2 separate regions of the Homo sapiens genome follow, and region 1 is linked to region 2. The links are contacts of gene promoters, found by promoter capture Hi-C in human tissues and cell types (Jung and others, 2019). All regions are on one chromosome and are shown on one strand. Each heading gives the region's core, a stretch centred on a gene start or on the middle of the fragment in contact. The rest is flanking DNA. Distances are from core to core; before and after follow the strand shown.

Evidence for each region. The method cuts DNA at HindIII sites, captures the fragments that hold promoters and counts their contacts. A contact is called where the count stands out against the background at its distance.
Region 1: a fragment that was not itself captured here is called in contact with the fragment with the promoter of ABCD2 in region 2 in 1 of the 25 tissues and cell types used here (hippocampus).

The regions. Positions count from the first base shown.
Region 1 is chr12:39,924,448-39,930,908 of GRCh38, forward strand. The region is part of intron 4 of SLC2A13 (solute carrier family 2 member 13); the gene reads right to left. Among named protein-coding and RNA genes, the nearest start is that of SLC2A13, 180 kb to the right of the region's middle. The HindIII fragment of the contact is 3,446 bases long and covers 474-3,919 here.
Region 2 is chr12:39,617,683-39,623,511 of GRCh38, forward strand. It overlaps ABCD2 (ATP binding cassette subfamily D member 2), which reads right to left and starts at 2,121. Exons shown (of 10, transcript NM_005164.4): 1 at 995-2,121. The coding sequence starts at 1,933. RefSeq lists enhancers at 1,523-1,602, 1,913-2,432, 3,662-3,741. The HindIII fragment of the contact is 5,264 bases long and covers 1-3,696 here.

The sequences.
Region 1 (6,461 bases), core at 947-3,446, 310 kb after region 2:
TGCTTCAATCACTGTTTTCAATTCTTCTTCCTTCATTTTTTTTCTTTCAATTTTTGAGGACAGTGATAAGACTAGCTTATCTAAAATAGACTTCACCTTTTTCTGACACAACATAGATACTAAGTATCTACTATTTATCTACTATAAATAATTCTGCAATTATTAGGATCATTGTATCGTTAGTATAGAAGTATTTGCTTGAATCACTGTTTTCAATTATTCTTCATTTTTTTTCTTTCAATTTTTGAGGACAGTGATAAGACTAGCTTATTTAAAACAGAGGCAGTATTTGGTGAAAATACTAGAGAAAAAAGTTTGGCAATGTAAAATGCAATAGGCTTGACCTTTTGTGTTTTGCATGACAGAAAGCTAACTTGAGAAAAAGACCCCCCACCCCGCCAAAATAAAAGAAGTATGAAGAATAAGTTTCTTTGTCTATGTAATACATTGTAAAAAATCTGCCAAAGACTATCCGTTTAAAATTTTTCTTCAACATTTATTTATATCATCATACACATTAGGGAGCATGACATAAAACATACCAGATGAATAAATAGGTTAAGTGTCCTATACATACAGATAATTTTTTTTTTTTTTTTTTTTTTTGAGGAAGAGTCTCACTCTGCCACCCAGGCTAGAGTGCAAAGGCATGATCATGGATCGCTCACTCGATCTCCTGAGCTAAATCTATGCTCCCACCTCAGCTTCCTGAGTAGCTGGGACTATGGGGTACACCATCATGCCCGGCTAATTTTGTACTTTTTTTCTGTAGAGACGGGGTTTCACCATATCGTCAGGCTAGTCTCAAACTCCTAGGCTCAGGGATCCTCCTGCCTCTACCTCCCAAAGTGTTGGGATTACAGGTGTGAGCCATCAGGCCTGGCCTTATTATTCACATTTTTAATATCTACCTAAAACTAGTTAGAAAGTAGTAAGATGAACTAAATGTATTTTAATTAAATCTTTCAATTTCTGCCATTTATCTTTCACCACTAAAATCATTATTTACCAAAAAAGGTAGTCATAGTAACACTTCTCAATGACTTCAGTTATTCAGTTGTGCATATATAACAATAATATATTAACATCTTCCACCTGCATACTTTAAAAATATATCAAATAATTAACTTTTTTTCCTTTAAGTAAAGAAATACTTAAAAGCTAGGAAGCTATGGTTCAGAAACTATATTTTTTAATGGCTAAATCTTTTTCATGTCAATTATTTTAGTTTTTACTACTAAAAGAGCCACTACTAGTAATGCTAGCCCTCTACATCACTTCTCACCCATTTTGAGATCACTGCCACTTTATTTTCATTTGGTATTTTCCTCTATATCTGTCTATATACTGATGCTTTAAAAGAAAATAATTTTCAGCAAATCCAATTAATCATTCCCACTCAATATTTACCAGTCTTTCCCCAGTAATACAGAGCTTAATATAAAATAAACAATTTTCCTTCTTTGTCTAAGTTATCCAAATTAATTTTTTAAATAGCCTTAACCCAATTGTTAGGATATCCTATCTAGATCTTCATGAATATGACAGATAGTAAAATAAAAATGAAGCATATGTTCTCATTTGGGCACGAATTTGGTAAGCTTTTATATTTGGTTAAGTACTCATAACACTGAAGCAAAGATTATTGGAAATCTGTTGAAGAGAACCTTAAATCATGTTTAGAACATTAAAGCAAAGAGAATGAAAATGTCCCTCAAAGCACAATAATTATTCCTCAATTATAGAAAAATATAAATAAATAACCCTTTGTATTTAAATAATTATAATATCTTATAAAAGGGTGACTAATATTAAGACTTAGAAAGTGATAAATATCTCTTTAGTCCATTTTTAAGAACATCTTACATACAAATCTCAGGTTTACAGCCTCAGAAAGATCCAAGGCATGTTATCATATGTGCCTTCAAGAATGCTACCCAGACTTTTATTATAATTTTAAAAACTCAGACATATTTATATGGCTCTGACATTTACAAAATGCAAGCACAGATATCAATTGTAAATAAATGAGATATGTGACAGCGTATTGTAAGCTGCTCTTTAGTATGTGCTGTATCGCCCACTGGTATTTCAACTTCCAGGTCATCATCTCAATAGGTAATAAAATCATCTTTACTGTCTTACAAACCAAATACAGTTCTAACCTTTTTTATTTTTCTTTTTTCCAGGCAGGGTCTCAGTCTGTCACTCAGGCTGAAGTGCTGTGGCCCAATCATAGCTCAATGAAGCCCTGATCTCCCAGGCTCAAGAGATCCTCCTACCTCAGCCTCCTGAGTAGCTGAGATTACAGGCATGAGCCACCATGCTAGGCGAGCTTTTTAATTTTTGTAGAGACAGGGTCTCCCTTTGTTGCCCAGGCTGGTCTTGAACTCCTGGGCTCAAGGGATTCTCCTGCCTCGGCCTCCCAAAGTGTTGGGAAAACGGACGTGAGCCACCTGCATCCAGCTAGTTCTAACTTTAAATGTGAAAATTTTTAGAGGTTTCATTTATAGAGAAAAATATCCTGATGCTATCTGATTGAGAAAAGCTGGACAATTGATAAAGCAATCCATCAATGTATCATATAATTTATAGTACCTCCAGAACTAAAGCATTTAGTTTGATCATATATAAATGGAACAGTAATACACTTTGCACTAAGTATTTTAAACAGATAAGATTCTTGTCAGCCATATGTCTACAGTTCATGTATCATAATCAAATGGCCTGGTGCTTTTGAGTCCACACCCATTCCTTTTATGAAATGATCCACTACATTTTGTACATTTTATAGAACCTGGGAGAATCAACCTCTGCAAGTTTGCTTCTACCTTTGATTCCTGACACCAAAATACTTAAGGAATTTAAAATTTTCTAGGTATAGAATAGAGATCAAAAACTAAACTGAAAATTGGTGAGTCATATGAAGTTTCCTGGAAAGAATATAAACATATTAGTCAAAGCATACTCTTGAGTTTTTTTCCCCCAAATGTCATTTAAAATATAAAATACTAAATATGTAACAATACAAGTAGTTCAGGATTTCATAATCTATTACAATTAATAAAATGTTTAATACTCCAAATTGCGTGTTCATTATATGTGGTCTACATTAGGTTAGAATTTATCTTTTTTAAACAATAACATATCAAACGAGAAAAAATATTTTATTTGCTACTGTTACTGTCAAAACAGCTTTTCAAAACCAAGAAGTTTTTATGCAATGATATAGTAACTTGGCTAAATCTGGTTTATTTCATATTCAGAAATTTTTATTTTAAGAGGCATTTACAAAAGCTACAGGATATGCTTTAATTAATTTGACAAGTTTATTAAGCTTTACAATGTTCAAAATACTACGCCAGAGATACACAACATGATTGTTTTTATATCAACACTTATTGAGCTCCTGTGGAAGGAAAGCATTTAAGATAAATGGTACATGCCCATGAAGTACCCAAAACACAAATAATTAAATGAATTAACTTCAAATAAACTGGAACCCAAAACATTAAAGTATAAATTAAATTATCTATATAACTATAAGCTTGGTATGAAGTATTCATGTTGCAGGAAACGAATTACATTTCCGATATTAAAGTCCTGATATATATTTAAGAGTTGTTACTTACATTACTTCATCGAAATCTTTCCTATAGCAACATTATTTTGAAAAGGGAAAAATGTTTTACTTGAATAATATCTTGTACTTCAATAGTCAAAAAACGCTACACATCCCATACTCTTGAAAAAAACAAAACATCTTAACTTCAAACAGCACTAATATAAGTTATGCTTTGGCCCAATTGTTGCTTACTGGATTGGGTGAAAAAAATCTTAATCTTACTCATATTAGAGAATTCTATAAAGTAAATCCTGTTCCTTCTAATATGCAAATGTACTTACTCAATTTGAGAGCCTGCCAACCCTCCAATCAGGCTCTGATTGCACTTTTTGTGTGAGTGGTGGAATCAAGAGTGCTTCTTTTAGAACATGAGGAATAAAGAAAATAGAGCTAAAATGCTAGATGCTCTACTGCACAGAGTTAAAACATTAAAATCTTAAAAAATTAAGGATATTAAATGCGTAACTGGTTAAAAAATAAGCAACATTTTTATTTCAGAAAAGCATTTCAGTTACAAACTTGCCTGTTTCTTGTCTCAAGATTTTTAAATGGCTTATGAAAGATGTTCAGTTAAACCCAGCAGCTTTATTTCCTCACACTCTCCACTAAAATGACTATAAAGTAATTAAAGTTTGTATGCAAGGATAAAGAACATCAGACTGGAAGCTTTGGACAGTGGAAAGAGGATAGACAAGTGGTGACTGGCTTAACACAGCAGAACTAAAACCTAATCACAACAAAGTAAAGCCAGCAAGAAGCAGGATGATTTGTATGACAGACTCTGGAAAGTCTTAAGAATTGGAGGTACCAAATATCTCAGACAGTAGATTATAAAAAGGACTGGTTGACAATCCTTGTAACAATCAACAAGATGCCTCCCCCAACTCCACTGCCAAGATCCTTTGCCCTCCCCACACATGGGGAGGAGACAGAGGTGTCCTGTCCAGAGAAAATGAATGTCCAGGATTGCAGACAGGAGGATGGCAGACATGGTGAAGGCCAGCAGCAAGGAGTGGCAAGAAAATGAAAATTTATGGCATTAAAAATTCTGAGGGAGAAAAACAACCCAAGTCTGGGGACTGAATAAAGAGTTTCATGGTCTCAAAACTGTTTACTTCTCATTGAACTTTTCACAGGAAACTAGTACAGAGTAAGAATCATGATAAAGATGAAGTCAGCCTAAAAAGAAGACATGGGAGGCTGGGCGCAGTGGCTAACACCCATAATCCCAGCACTTTGGGAGGCTGAGGTGGGTGGATCACGACGTCAGGAGTTCGAGACTAGCCTGGCCAAGATGGTGAAACCCTGTCTCTACTAAAACTACAAAAATTAGCCAGGTGTGGTGGTGGGAACCTGTAATCCCAGCTACTCAGGAGGCTGAGGCAGGAGAATCGCTTGAACCCGGGAGGCAGAGGTTGCAGTGAGCCGAGATCGAGCCATTGCACTCCAGCCTGGGCGACAGAGTGAGAGTCCATCTCAAAAAAAAAAAGCAAAAGACATGTAATATAGGAAACAGAACTCAGCCACAAGAGAGAGGGGTAAAGAGCATTTCTACAGCTGTCCCTCAGGGGGCAACCAGATGGGAGAGGCAGGCAGGATACTGGAGGCTGCAGGAGAAAGTTCTGTAAGAAGAGCAGAATCACAGGATGGATTATGGGTGTTTCTCATTAGGTTTAACTGTAAAGGAAGAGGCTTTACAGCTCCACTGAAAAGTATGCAGAAAGAATTAGTGAGGGGTACACTGAACACTGAGCAAGTTAAAGAATGCGGCACTTGGGCTGGGTGTGGTGGCTCACGCCTGTAATCCCAGCACTTTGGGATGCTGAGGAGGACGGATCACCTGAGGTCAGGAGTTCGAGACCAGCCTGGCCAACAGGGTGAAACCCTGTCTCTACTAAAAATACAAAAATTAGCCAGGCATGGTGGTGCATGCCTGTAATCCCAGGTACTCAGGAGGCTGAGGCAGGAGAATCGCTTGAACCCGGGAGGCAGAGGTTGCAGTGTGTGGAGATTGCACAACTGCACTCCAGCCTGGGTGACAGAGTGAGACTTCGTCTCAAAAAAAAAAAAAAACCAAAAAACGAAAAAGAATGTGGCACCTACTTACTACTATAGGAGAGAGAGAAAAAAATCCTGGTATAACTGTATGAGCCATTTCAGCAGGCCAGGATCATGGGTTGTAGGCAGCAAGGTGGAGGAGGGGGAAGTGCTGCAGAGGAGCAAACAGAAGACTCACAGCACACATCAGAGTAAATTTAATCACAGTGCACAGAGCTGCTCAGTGGGGAACAATATTTCCATCATCATCGTAATGAAAATGGTATATATTAATTAATCCAAAAATGAGATATAATTATATCAGGGGCAGGAAGAATGTGTGAATGTGAATGTGTGTATTGTGGGGGAGCAGTGTTGGAAGAAGCATTTCATCTTCCATAATGAAAAGTCAGTGCAGAATTTCAAAAATTATACATATTTTTCACTTAAAAATACAGTTGTTAATACTGAAAGAAAAATCTAAAAGAAGTGCAAGTAATTGCCTCTGGAAAGCAGAATTTGAGATGGGAAAGGGAGGGCCAGGGACAACTGCCTTTCACAGTAAGATTTATAGTATCTTGACTTTTGTGTATGTAATACTGTGATAAAAATTAAATTCAAAATAAAAACATGAATACCCTTAAAACAAGACTGTGACTGCCACATAAATATTCTGACTTCAGAACATCATTTATTGTTTAATGAAAAAACCTTAAAATCAGCAAATTAGGCAAACTCATTTCACTGTGCTTTAATAGATCAATCTCCAAAGCAGTCAAGCAATTTGATTCATACCCTA
Region 2 (5,829 bases), core at 871-3,370:
GAGTAGGATTCCTAAATTTACTTTAAATATTATTTTTCAGGTTGCTACTGCTATTAAAGACACTGATAATTACAGATGCTTTAAAAATTAAATAATTCTGCTTGGTGATTGACATGCCATCTTCAACAGTAGAATACTTTATTTTATTCACCAAGTCATTTAAATTAAGATTGCATTGCCTTCAAAATTTCTGTCATTTCATATTCTGAAGTTACCTTCATGCACTGTTAGTATGTATAATTGGGCTAATTGTTTTAGGGATCTGCTTAATGTTGAAAATCTTTAATAATTAAAAACATTCTGAAACTCCTTTTGTACTCCTCATTTCTTCTCTAATTTCAGCTTTTTTTTTTTTTCAAAGCTAGACAAAATTTCATTTCACTTCCTCTTTTCATTTTGTCAAAGTACAGTGCTGAACATGAACTAAGAGTAGTAGAAATGCCATTTTGTGAGACACTCTCCTACGCTTCTTGGGAATGGGGATGCTCCATATTGATCAGACATGCAAAATTGTTAAAAATGTCTTCTATAAGAAACCCTGGCTCTTCCCCCCTCTTGGACAACAAAGGAACAACAAAGAATATCATTCTAAATTTTCCATTTCAGTGGAAATATGTTTAGTCTTAGTTTCTAAATATATATTTTCTTCTGGTAGGTGCTTTAGGATGACCTACCAAGTTGGGATTTAAGTTTTAAGAAAATGCGTTAGAAATAATTCTGAGCATATTTGAGTAACTGAGGCTAAGTAGACTTTTTTAGAGTGTTGCAAATTTTATTCTTCTGAAACTTTAGAAAAGTTTGCACCCTATAATCCTTTAACTGGTTACAGTTAAAAGGGGTAATGAAGCATATATTTTAATTCAGGTTTAGATGTCAGAGGAATCTAAGACACTAAAGAAGTGGGTCCATCGACAGGACAACAGATGGTATCTGGCACTGCAGTGGCAACTTGAACAGTTTCACATTTCACCCATCACCTTAATTTCTATCTTACCTTATGTCCTCTGTAAAAGGCAATTTCTTCTACATTGGCTATAATTCTCGAGTGCACATACCGCAAATAGCCTTTTCTATGTGCTTCCTCTGCCACCAGTTTGCCAAATTTGGGAGAACAGGCTTTTAACACTTTAGCAGTGGCATACACCACAAGTCCTGCTAGTAGGGTGGGCCCAATTGGGCTTGCTCCTCTGGATGTAGCAGTTTGAATGAGTGTATAGGAGGTCAGCATTACATCTAAAATAGGTTTGGTCAGATTGGAATACAAGTGAGCCACAGATTGGGAGAACATCATAATATCCTCCGTAAGAGATTGGTCAGGGTTTGCCAGCCTCCCATCCATATTGATCACTTTATAATAAGTCTGATTTGTAAAATAGGTTTCATAGGCGTGGTCTACTAGGCGAGTTCTGAAGGCCAAAGCCAATTTGCATTCCAGGTACCTTATTGCACTGTTGACGAAGGTAGCAGGGATGGCAATCATAAGCCACTTGATTAATTTGATGATGAAAGTCCGAGGCTTCTTTTCCACAATGCTTTTCACGATTTTTCCATCCAGACCAGCCACATAGATAGAAAGAAAGGTTCTTGAGATTAGAGCCACTGAGTGCAGGCAGAGCCACCCTGTTTCAGTGGTCACAAGTTTTGGAAACAAAATTTTCCGAAGTTCTAGTAGCTGTTTGAAGAAATCTGCATTCACTCCAGGCGAAGGTTTTTCACAAATGGTCTCGGTGCAATGCAGTATTTCTGTGTTCTCTGCAGCAGGGTAAGCTGCTGCTTTTTTCTTCCCGTGGCCAGATTGCTTTAAACGCTTGCCAATGATGGGATAGAGGGTTTTCAGAGCATATGCCGCAGCCACCAGGCAGGCAGCCCTCTTAGCAGCACTCGATCTGGTCCATTTCACTCGATCAGCTGCTGCATTTAGCATATGTGTCATTTTCCCAGTTACCCAAACCGGCTTCCAAAAGAATTCGTTTTAAAAGATCATGCTTCACAGAAATCCCCAGCAAATGTTTTAGAAAGTCCTACAGCGTCCCATAGTCTGCAGCGTTTCTCTTCCACTGTTGTGTTTTTAATTTTGTTCTGCTGTGACAGATGCAGCAGAGCTCAGACTCCGCTGCATCTACCGGGAATGATTCTCTCAGAAGCTCAAGCTGCACCAAGCTCCTCCCTCCCAGGCCCCTCATTGGCTGTGAGGGCGGTGGGACCTTGGAATCCTCGCAGCTTCCCTTTGAACCTTGAAAATGAGGAGAGAGCAAAGCGAATTACATCCTTCCTTAAACAGGAGTTCAGAGAGTTAAAATGTCTATTTTTGGAGAGGTCGAATCAGGCCATCTGCTGGCGAACAAAACCGGCTCTAGCTACTGAGCATGCTCAGTGTCACTTAGAAACCCACAGAAGTTTCAGAATATACATCACTTCGGTAAGATTTCAGTAGATACCGCAAACAGAAGAGCAAGCAGAAAGGGAGATTTCCAAGCGAACAAAACCGGCCCTAGCTACTGAGCATGCTCAATGTCACTTAGAAACCCGCAGAAGTTTCAGAATATACATCACTTCGGTAAGATTTCAGCAGCTACCGCAAACAGAAGAGCAAGCAGAAAGGGAGATTTGCAAGAGTTTTAATGAGACGAGGAGGGAGAAGGAACCACGAAAATGAGGGAGGAGGGACAAGAGGATCAACATAAAATGAATATGAAAAGGATATGGAATGAATCTGAAACGGATCAGAAAAGAAAGTGACAAGTGGGAGGGACACCGGAGAATGCCAAATATCAAATACACTTGGATCTGTTTTTCACAGATCCCCCCGGCTTTTTTGGGGGTCTGATTTCACAAAAGGTCTCAGAACCTAATAGACAAGTTGTAATCGAGGGTTTCCCTTGTAAATAAATAGGATAAAAGTCTTCCGTGTTACAGAAAATAATTATTTGCTATGCCTCTAGCCATTCTCCCTTTTTCCTCTGCATCCTACTTGTCCTTATGCTAAAAATCTTCCAGCCCCATAACTGGAGATCTGATGTACTCATATTTATTTACAAGGTGACGACTATTAAATAAATGAGAGCAATGTTTCATGTTTACTACTCCCATGTGTTAGGTAGTTTTTACTTGGAGTGGGGTAGCACTTATAGTGAAAGTTTAACCATTTGGGAATTCAGCTGGTGTTGGATGGTGGAAATAGCTTCTCTAGGACCTTACTTCATTTTTCAAGAATGCTTTGTCTTTTGCAGGTTTCTGCTTTGTTTGTTTTGTTTAGCTGTAGAGATAATCTACTGGCTACTTCCTATTTCCATTTGGTTATTTGATAAAAACTAAGAGTCTTAAAATTCTTCACATCCATAATGGAGGATTTAAATTGTTCAACAGTCAAGGACAATTCTGCATATTTTTGAAAATGTAAAAAGCTTTTTTTTTTTTTTTTTTTTTTTTTTTTATGAGACAGAGTCTCTCTCTGTCACCCAGGCTGGAGTGCAGTGGCACGATCTCAGCTCACTGCAGCCTCCGCCTCCCAGGTTGGTGCCTCAGCAGCCCGAGTAGCTGGGATTACGAGGGTGCGCCTACCATACTTGGCTAATTTCTGTAGTTTTAGTAGAGATGGGTTTTGCCATGTTTGCCAGGCTGGTCTCAACCTCCTGGCCTCAAGTGATCCACCTGCCTTAGCCTCCCAAAGTGCTCGGATTATAGACGTGGGCCACCACGCCCAGCCAAGAGCATTTTTTAAGTCAGGGCTGAGTATATTTTTGGATATGGAAAAACCATTTTTTTTGCTCTTCACTGTCCCCGCCCCCCATCTCATTAAAATTCTCGGAAATCTCCCTTTCTGCTTGCTCTTCTGCTTGTGGTATCTACTGAAATCTTACAAAAGTGATATATATTCTGAAACTTCTGGGGATTTCTAAGTGACACTGAGTATGCTCAGTAGCTACAGCCAGTTTTGTTCACCAGCAGCTGGCCCCCAACATACATACACATTTCCAGTCAATTAAAAGCTTAGGAAAATATGCATCAAGCTAGAACAGAAGTTGGCAAATTACAACTGGTGGGCCAAATCTAGCCTGCCACTTAATTTTATATGACCCTTAAGCTAGGAATGATTTTTACATTTTTAAAGTGGTTGAAAATACTTCAAAACAAGAATATTTTGTCCTGTGAAAATTATATAAAATTCTCATTTTTGTGTTTATAAATAAAGTTTTATTGGAAAACAGTCACACCCATTCATTTACTCTCTGTCTATGGCTTCTTTCAAGCCACAGTGGTGGATGCAACAAAGACTAAAATATGTACTATTTGGCCCTTTATAGAAGTTTGCAAACCTCTGTGCTAGAATATAAAACCCATCTCAGCATTAAATGATCTTCATTACTGAGTTTATCACAAAGAACTATCCTCACTTTCATAAGTAACCATATTCTTAAAATTTTAAAACTTCTTTCTTATGTACTCATATTAATTCTGACAATCATCACATATCTCTTCATTTGTTTGCATTCAATTCAGCAGACTGACTGACACATGAGTGTCAAACTCATGCAAGTTTTTTTGATAGCTGGCCATATTAGTAGCATAATCCATCATCCCATTAAGACTTTTTAAGCCTGTATGTACAGATAATAGTGGTCATGGAAGTTATTGCCAAAATCTTTTATTCCTAAGCTCTTGCTTTTGTTGTATGCAAGATAAGGTTGCCTTTCATTTATGTCACATCTCCTAACAGCTACACACAAAAGGGTTAGCAGTGACAGGACAGGTTAAAGGCCAGAGTAAACCTAACTGGGGGTGATGGCAGGATGTTGTTAGGCAGAACATGGTACACAGAAGGATGCAGACAGCAGCTGGCAGTCGAGGCAAGTGGTTTGCAATACATACAACCAGAGACAGCCATATTAGGGGAGGAGCATGGCAGTGAGAACTCTAGAAGCAAAGGACACTAGAGATTCAAATAGGACTTAGCTGGAGGTAGGTCAGTTTACCAACTGATAATGAGGTTATAGTGCAGGAACAAGCTTTCAGCATCTGGAGTGAGAGACTTGTGAGAATGAAGAATTATTTATGAGGAAAATGATCAAGACAGAAATTTTGTTACCTGAATCGTGGTACAAGGAAGGTTGAAAGTGAGTTACTTGAAGTGTGGAAAATGTCAACGTGAAATTTGATTTGATATTGAGCCACTTAGGTGAAGACCTAACTCTAACCACTTAAATTTCACTCCCACCATTCACCTCTCCCTGCTCTCAAGGGTAAGAGTTGGTCCTAGTGTCTGAGACTAGACACAAGCCTTCAGATAAGGCAGAGGAAGGATTCAAGAAGACAGGAAGCCATATGGACAATTAGGTCAATAATATATGGCATTTAAGTAAAAAACTAAGAATGTCAAGGTACTTCTTTCAGTTTTTTCTTTTTCTTTTCTTTCTTTCTTTCTTTTTTTGAGGGGGATGGAGCCTCACTCTGTTGCCCAGGCTGGAGTGCAATGGCACAATCTAGGCTCACTGCCACCTCTGCCTCCCAGGTTCAAGTGATTCTCCTGCCTCAGTCTCTCAAGTAGCTGGGACTGCAGGTGCCCACCACCACGCCCAGCTAATTTTTGTATTTTTAGTAGAGATGAGGTTTTGCTACGTTGGTCAGGCTGGTCTCGAACTCCTGACCTCAGGTGATCCACCCCCGTCGGCCTCCCAAAGTGCTGGGATCACAGGCGTGAGCCACCGCGCCCGGCCTTCTTTCAGTTTTTTTCTATTGACAGTATGCAATTAAAGCTAAGAGACTGTTAATTTAGTTTGAATTCCAAACTAGGAAAGAGGAGAAAAAAATCTTTGTTACTGTAGTAAAAAA